Regions from separate parts of the Homo sapiens genome. Here region 1 is linked to region 2. The links are contacts of gene promoters, found by promoter capture Hi-C in human tissues and cell types (Jung and others, 2019). All regions are on one chromosome and are shown on one strand. The core of a region is centred on a gene start or on the middle of the fragment in contact, and the rest is flanking DNA. Distances in the headings are between cores, read along the strand shown. Region 1 overlaps LRP1B (LDL receptor related protein 1B). Region 2 holds the start of LRP1B (LDL receptor related protein 1B).

The links. The method cuts DNA at HindIII sites, captures the fragments that hold promoters and counts their contacts. A contact is called where the count stands out against the background at its distance.
Region 1: a contact is called between a fragment that was not itself captured here and the fragment with the promoter of LRP1B in region 2, in 1 of the 25 tissues and cell types used here (hippocampus).

The regions. Positions count from the first base shown.
Region 1 is chr2:141,758,287-141,762,378 of GRCh38, reverse strand. All of the region lies in intron 2 of LRP1B (LDL receptor related protein 1B), which reads left to right. All of the region lies in intron 3 of LOC107985779 (a long non-coding RNA gene), which reads right to left. Among named protein-coding and RNA genes, the nearest start is that of LRP1B, 370 kb to the left of the region's middle. The HindIII fragment of the contact is 6,492 bases long and covers 1-4,092 here.
Region 2 is chr2:142,129,557-142,133,654 of GRCh38, reverse strand. It overlaps LRP1B (LDL receptor related protein 1B), which reads left to right and starts at 2,639. Exons shown (of 91, transcript NM_018557.3): 1 at 2,639-3,007. The coding sequence starts at 2,926. RefSeq lists an enhancer at 1,572-2,771. The HindIII fragment of the contact is 3,160 bases long and covers 560-3,719 here.

The DNA of each region.
Region 1 (4,092 bases), core at 875-3,374, 370 kb after region 2:
ATCTTTTGCTTACCCCTCCCTTTTTGAGGGGACAGGGACTTTCTTCTTTTCCCTCATCTTCATCTTCTCCCGTGGCATCATCCATTATGCATCATTCATTTTTTTTCCCTGCTCCCTATGGTCTTTGCTTATTGAAATACTCAACAGTGGCCAATTTATTGGAATTGAAAGGCTGCTAAAATACATCATCTCACAGAGAAAATGTCATTTATTTTTCCTACTTTTTTCTCTCATAGTGTCAGCTTCACCCAATCAGTGGATAACCAAATTATTTTTAACTAAATATAAAAGAAAAAAAAAAGACAATAACCATAAAGAAAACACCTTGATTAAAGCATTTTAGACATGAAGAAAAGATTGCTGTGAAAATCTTCTTTTCAGAGAGTTTGATTTTATGACCTTAGAATACAGATGATAGCCATGATTTCCAGTCTGTGTACCATGGAATCCTGGAGCACTGAGCAAACTCATGAGATACTCTGGGATATTTTAAATGTTGAAGGAAAACATAGCAATACTAGACAGATGTCATACACAGTGCAAACTACTAGCTTGAGGTAGTTCACAGTTTCAATATTAGATTGGCCTGCATATTCCTTTTGATGATATCTTATCTTTTTGAAGCTGGGTTTTTGGCATTTTTTTATGACAAAAAGCACAGGCTGCCTGAAAATGTGGCTTAGGAATAAAGTGATGCATTCAGTCAGATTCCAAGGATTGAGATGCTGTTCAGTGTCCAACAGGTATGCAAATAAAAATAAAATTTAAAAGTAAAATAAATTTTTAAGTATTGGTGGCTGCCTCTAAATTTCTAATAGCACATCTCAAGCTTTTCCTTTGTATCATTATTTTGTCATTATTTTTAAGCAAATTTTTAATTGTGGAAGAAATTAAAATTTTTTTCTTATAGTGTATTTGTGTTATTTTTCAAATGATTTCTATGTTGCTTGATATAAATATTTATTAAGTTATTTGTACTTCTACATAATAAACTAGACTTCAATGTATTTTTTTTTTTTGACTTAGGATTGCTGAGGGAAAATTCCTGAGGCATTAAATAAAGGATATATGAACAAAGAGTTTTGGAACCTCTGGGCAATGTACTGCAATTTCTTCCCAAACACACTGACCAGATTTAATGGAAAAAAAATAGTTTTCACTCAGGTGCCAGAAATTGGATCAACTGATAATAGATAAGCAATCTCTTTTTACAGAAACACAAATATCACTGAACTTAATGAAGAGTGTTTCCTAACAATGAGGTTAACCATCTTGTATTCCTATGCAATATTTCAGCATTATAAAACGTACATGCTCATGTTACAGATTTCAGGATCACTCAGTCTGTCAACCCCATACTCCGTAAATAAAATAATAAAAGAACAGAGGTGCTAAACAGAAAATGTGCCCACAAATATAGCTAACTTAAACATTTTTAGGGTAATTGAAAGATGTTTTGCTAAAGTAAAGTGGGGAGAGTAATAATTTTCTAAAAGTTGGGATAATCTTTCTTATGTGATAAATGGTGTGTAAAGGCCATGAAAGCACCATGTTACAAGTGACTCTAATATGTTAGCCATCGTCTGTAAGAATCTTCACAGTTTTGTGCACTGTGTTGATTTTCTTTGAGTGTCCTTATTTTTGCTTCCAATATAAATCCATCACGTAGTGTTCTTGTATGAAACAATGAATACAAAATATTTCTGAAATTGAAAACTCTGTAACAATCCATGACCCAACCTTAAAAAGATTTTGCTTTCTTTTGTTAAGTGTATAGTCCAGTAAAATATACATCTTTATTGTTGTATATAAGTTGCACTAAATATATGCTGTCTCAATGCTCTTTTAAAATAACATTTTGTTGAGCAGCTTGTTTTACATACCATAAAATAATAAATTTCTTTAAATATTTTGAACAAATATGTTTTTGTTTGAGAAAATAAAGGTCACTCGTAATCACCCATCTGTAAATTAACATTAATAACTTATGAATACATCTATTATGACATTTTCACACAAACATAAGATGAATCCTAATGAAGATGTGTTTTTTTACTTAACAATGACTTATGAGCATTTCACATCATTTTTCATATCGTCTTAGTATTCCATCAAATGGTTGTACCATCACTTATTTTACTCACAACTTATGGATGAAGACTGGGTTTCTTTCCAGTTTTGGTTATCAATTTCATAATGAACATTACAAGAGATGTATTTTTGCATTAACACATGATAGTTTTTGAAACAATTCTGAAAAGTAGAACTACTACATCAAACGGAAGTAAATTTCCACAAGTAGTGATAGATGTTGCCAACTTGACATTGAGGCAGTGGTTCTCCTGCCTCAGCCTCCCGAGTAGCTGGGATTATAGACGCACGCAACCACGCCCGGCTAATTTTTGTATTTTAGTAGAGACAGGTTACGCCATGTTGGCCAGGCTGCTCTCAAACTCCTGACCTCAGGTGATCTACCCGCCTCGGCCTACCAAAGTGCTGGGATTACAGGTGCCTCGCCAATATTCAAGTATATTTTTCCATTGCTTTTGACATGTAATGTGGCTGCCTCTAAAGTTCTCAGACAATGTCTCCCCCTCAAAGATCTAAACATCTTTCTCAATTGTAGTCTCAATAATATTTTAAAAGACCATCCATTATATTTTCTTCCACCTTGTTGATTTGCTTGTTTATTTTTTCTATCTAGAGATAAACAGTTTTCTTTCTCCTGATACTTCCCATGGTACGTCTAAGACTGGTTATCTGTTCAATGATTTAGCGTATAACATGTTAGGCTCTTTTAATCACAGATTTATTTTGGTAAAGTTTTGATAAATATTCTTCTATTATATCTTTGAATATTTCCACTTTCTAATATGCTTAATCATTTCTTTAAAAATGCTAATGATCCACAAGTTGCATTCCCTATCCCTATATTTCATAGCTGTCATCTATCATCTACTTCCTCAATTTATTTTTCATCTTACCACTCTTGACTCTGCATTCTAATAGCACATCTCAAGGTTTTCCTTTGTATCGTTATTTTGTCATTATGCAATATAATAAATGTTGCCCTTCTATCAGGGCAAATGAGTTCTATCATTCTGCAAATGAGTTTAGAGCTTCCTTGTATTCTTTGTAATTTTATTCTTACTACTTTCCATCTGTTCATATGAACTTTTTATCTCAGTCTCTTTTTATGTCATGGCTTTCTGTGGTCCAAAAGTCTATAGTCTATAGATTCTTTCATTCTACTGGGGATTGAAAACATTTTTCAGAGGACTTTATTTTTTGTCATTTTTTAGAGTGATGATACATTTCTTTGAATGACTTTTGCATTTTTTTCCCAAAGCCTTCTCCTTTTATTTTTATCAACGTGTTTAAAAATCATGATTTGGCTTTCCACAACAGAGGATTGTCTTAAATCTTACTATTTGAACATTTGATTCATGAAAATATACTTTGGTTTTCTAGATTGAAATTTGAAGGACAGAATAATTTTATCAGCACTCCTTTACAATTAATTAACTAAGGAGTATTTAGTACTTTTCTTCAAAATATTTTAAATGAGACACTTTTTAATGATCACATAGAAATAAAAGGAAAGTATAACTGAATAAAAACAAAAGTTAAACATCAAATAAAACAAAAATTTACTTTGCACTAGAGTATAAATTTCCTAATGGCAAGAGTTTTCCTTTTTGTCCCATTTTTATATATCCTGTGCCTAGTAGAGTTATCTAGATTGTAACAAGCAATCAATACTCTAAGTAAATACATACCTTGTTAAATCATTATTGAGTTTTGTTCAAGATTTTGTTTAGTGATTACCTATTAATTTCCTATGTTTTATCCCATTCTTTATGTATTATTCATAATACTTTGAGCATGTTAGCTATTCAGTACATATATATGTATATATTTTATTTATTGACACATAAATGACGTTTAGAATGGACTCATGCAGAACTTAAGATTTAGTTAAATAAAAAATACATTTTGACATTCAACATTGAATGTTCTACCCAACTGTGAGATTTTTATATGCAATACTGAAATGATAAGAATTACTGAGGCCAAAATAGCATGAATTAA
Region 2 (4,098 bases), core at 1,390-3,889:
TATTGGTGCTCCAGCCTATACTTTAGTAACTAATCTTCCATATTTACTATCACTATTTTATAGTAACTGTTTTGAGTCCTATGTCATTCATGATTACTGACTTAATTGGTGATTACTTAAGAATTCTATTTTGCTTTATTATTCTGGTCACAATGTGCAGACAATGCATTTTTGATTTTTTTCCACTCAATGAAATAAAAAAGTCAACCAGATGATCTAAAAAGATCATATGGTTTTTACTCTGGCTAATTCATTTAACAGGCTATTAGGAGGCTCTACGTATTTGGAATGTTGTATATTTAGAATACAAAATCTCCTGAGTATTTGCTACTCTTATGATCTTTCCTAGCTTTTCCCTTTTCCAAGCTGACCATGGAATCTAGGGCTGCTGCACGTACTACAGAAGTGAATGAGTTAGTGATTTTTAATCATAGCATTGGGGCACTTTAGTATGTGGTAAAAGTCTTTGGTGGGTCATACTGTTCCTGGCTGCTTTCCTTTACTTTGCAGTGAAGTGGAGGGCGATTGGTGGTAATCTTTCAGAAGAGGAAGAATCTGGATGTCCTTAGTATGGTTTGTAAGCACTCCTCATTTTCTTGCCAAGAGTTAAGTGGATACAGATCTCCTAATAGCTGACCTTCTAGTTGACTGAATGGGATCATGTAAGAAAGACACCTGCTACGTTGTCCCAGTGAATAAGTTTGTCATACAATACAGAGGTCTGTGGACCCTCGAGAAAGAAACATTTATTACTTGGCACATCATTCAAATCTCTCTCTGTCTCTCTCTCTCTCTCTCTCACACACACACACACACGCGCGCACACACACATATTCTTTAAACTCTGCCACTCATTTCAAAGTTTGTGAATTTTCAGTATGAAGTAAAATATGTAAAAAAATCTTTTTATTCTATATTGTACACTATATTATGAAATAATAAAAACATCTAGGAAAAATTAGACATGTAACAACTTTAGAAGAAAAGAAGCATACACTTCTCTACTAAAAGTACAAAAAAATTAGCCGGGCATGGTCGTGGGCGCCTGTAGTCCTAGCTACTCCGGAGGCTGAGGCAGGAGAATGGCGTGAACCCGGGAGGTGGAGCTTGCAGTGGGCCGAGATCGCGCCACTGCAATCCAGCCTGGGCAACAGAGAGAGACTCCGTCTCAAAAAAAAAAAAAAAAATTAAGCATACACTTTTGAATGTAGGAGTCATATTTCAAACACAAAATGGTTGTATTTTCAAGGGAAAGTAAACTTTATAATTTAAAACATGGAAAAAGTGACATAAAATACATTTATAATCACAGAGTAAGAATAAAAAGGTGAAATCCACAGATTATTGACAATGTTCTGCAAAGTCATCTCTGTGTTCTTTCATCTAGTCCAGTTTTTAATGGCTTCAAAGGAGCATCTAAAGATATTTCTGGATAATTTTACTCTCATAAATAGGTAGATAGTAATGCTGGCATTCACTTATAAGTCTCAAACAGCAAAGTAAATAAAGCTTTTAAAGCATCTTCCTTCACTTTTCAATCGTTCTCTTCCTTAGTTCTGTTCCCTTCTCATAGTTTTCCTCTCCACTCATGTCCAGTTTCAAAATATTAAATATAAAACCTTTTCAACTCTTGTTCTTAGAAGAGAATTCCTGATGTTACAAGGAAGAAAGTAAGTCTACAACTATTAAGATTTCTGAGTTTTAATTCCGTAGCCACTTTGTAATGGCAAACTAAAATTTTAGGGACTGGGATGATCATGTTGTAAACTTAAGTGGTCATAAAAACAACTTTACTAATATTATTATTCCAGTGATTCCCGTTGATGCCTCCGATGGCTCGGGAAAGTTCTTACACCGCCCCTGTAGTATATGGAAAAGGAAAACAAAACAAAACACAAAACAAAAACAACAAAACCCTCAAAGCCTGTTTAAAATGGCTCGAAGTACCCTTTTAAAGACAGAACCCCAGAGAAAAACGCTGCCAATTCGTTGCTTTATTGTTCCCTGCCTGGGGACCTCAATAGCCTTTTCCATTAACCTTCCCTTCTTACGCAACGGTTAATGACTTTGGGGGTTGTTTTGCTTTCTGTTTCTGCTGAGTCACTAAATTTTGCCTCTTTGTCCCCAGGTGCTGCTCAGCATAAAAGTTAAAAGTGCAATTCAGGAAGTACTGGGATTCTGTGTAGAGCCGAGGAAACCATTTCCCTAAGAGAAGCTCTGTTCCTTGGCTTGTCCTTCCTTCCCGGGAAGGAAGCTTCCGAGGAACGAAGGGAGAAGCTTTGTTTTGCCTGCAGAAGCAGCCCTGTGCTCGGCTGAGGGTTCTCAGCTGGCTGTGAACTGCGGAGCATTGTAGGCGCCTGGCTGGCTCAGGCCAATGCAGAAGTCTCTCCCTTCTCCAAAGACCCAAATCCCCACAGAACCAGCTTCGAGTTACTTTCCCTTCAAGGGGATTAAAATAATTGTGATTTGTGGCGCTCTCCGTTCGCGGTGGTATTTTCCTGTTGTGTTAAATGCCTCTTATTAAGTAATAGATGTGATTTATGTGAACGACGAAGGGGTGTGTGGTGGATTCGGTGATTAATCAGTGAATTCCCATCCGCTGGCATCTCTCACTGCCCCTCTTGCGTGATGTAAGATCAGACGTACCCTGCATTGAAAAGTCAAGACACACGGGCGTCTCGCTCGCGCTCACACACGCTCTGCCTCCTCTCTCCCGCACGCGCGCATCCCTCCACCTTCCACATCCTGCTCCAGGCAGGAGAAGGCTGACTGGCTGGACTCATTGAGCTGAAGAATTTCCAGTGACATTTGTAAATGACGCCGCTCGATTCCAGGCTCCAAGCGGCCCCTGCCGCCGCCGCCGCCGCCGGGCCGAAGGTGCCGCCGAGCAGTCTCCAGCGCAGGCTTCCTTACCGGGCGACCACAATGTCCGAGTTTCTCCTCGCCTTACTCACTCTCTCGGGATTATTGCCGATTGCCAGGGTGCTGACCGTGGGAGCCGACCGAGGTAAGGAGAACACCTCCCCGCTCCCCTCCCCTGACTTCCTTGGCTTTCCTGCTGGGCGATGCTTGCAGATAAGTGAGTGTGAAACTTAAGTCCTTGCAGCTCCGCTCCCCGGGACCGGGTGACCACCGTGCGCTGGCCCTGTGCGGGGGTGAGAGGTGCGGTGCGGGATTTCTGAACCAAGTGCCTGAGTCCTCGGCACCCCCACAGCTTTTCCCTTTGGCCGTTTCCCGGTCCCCATTTTGTCCCCTCCGGGAGTGTGTGCACTTGGCTGTGCGCTTCTGTCCGCGAATTCTAAGCGCTGCAGATGTTGGAATGAGAATTCGCATTTCCGAAAGACTTCCCTCCGCGATGGCCCTCAACTGCGAGCTTTTGCGAGCTCCAGGTTCTCCGCGTTAAGCGTGTCCGCCCTCAACTTAGCTCCCAGGTTAACTTCCTTACCTGCTGCATTCGAGGTCCGTGGAGCGGCGAAAGCGCCGATTCAGGCCCCTTTCGTTTCTATAGCCCCTTCCTGGGGGCAGACTGGGGTCAGAGTCCTGTCATCAGCAGAGAGGCTTTTAGGACGATTCCGGGCGCACGCACCTGCTTGAAATTGACTTTTCGATTATGAGGGTCTGTGACACAGCCCAGGTGCTCTGAGGGGCTAACCCACCCCTGGAGTGCCTCTCTCCAGTCTGGCGCTTTGCTTTTCCTTTTTCTCCAAGCAGCTGGTGAATGGTAGAAGTTTAGAAGGGAATGGATATGGGGAGCAGAGGAGAAAGGAGGTAGGAATTAGAAAAAGCCGGGATTCTATAAACTTTTCATCTGGAAAATCAAGAATCCCTGTGCGAGTTTAATAATCTTTGACAACAGATGCACTGGTGAAAAAGGGAGGAAAATACTAGATGAATATTTGGGGCACTGGCCCTGGCCTTGGAATGGTTAACTGGTTAAAGTAAAATCAGAAGTATCATAGATTTTTTTAAAATCAGAAAATGAGCTTATATTGACTGGTATAGTTCAGCTTTTTAGTTTAAATAAGAGAGAGAGAGAGAGAGAGAGAGAGAGAGAGAGAGAGAGAGAGAGAAAGAGAGAAAGAAACCCAGATCCCAATG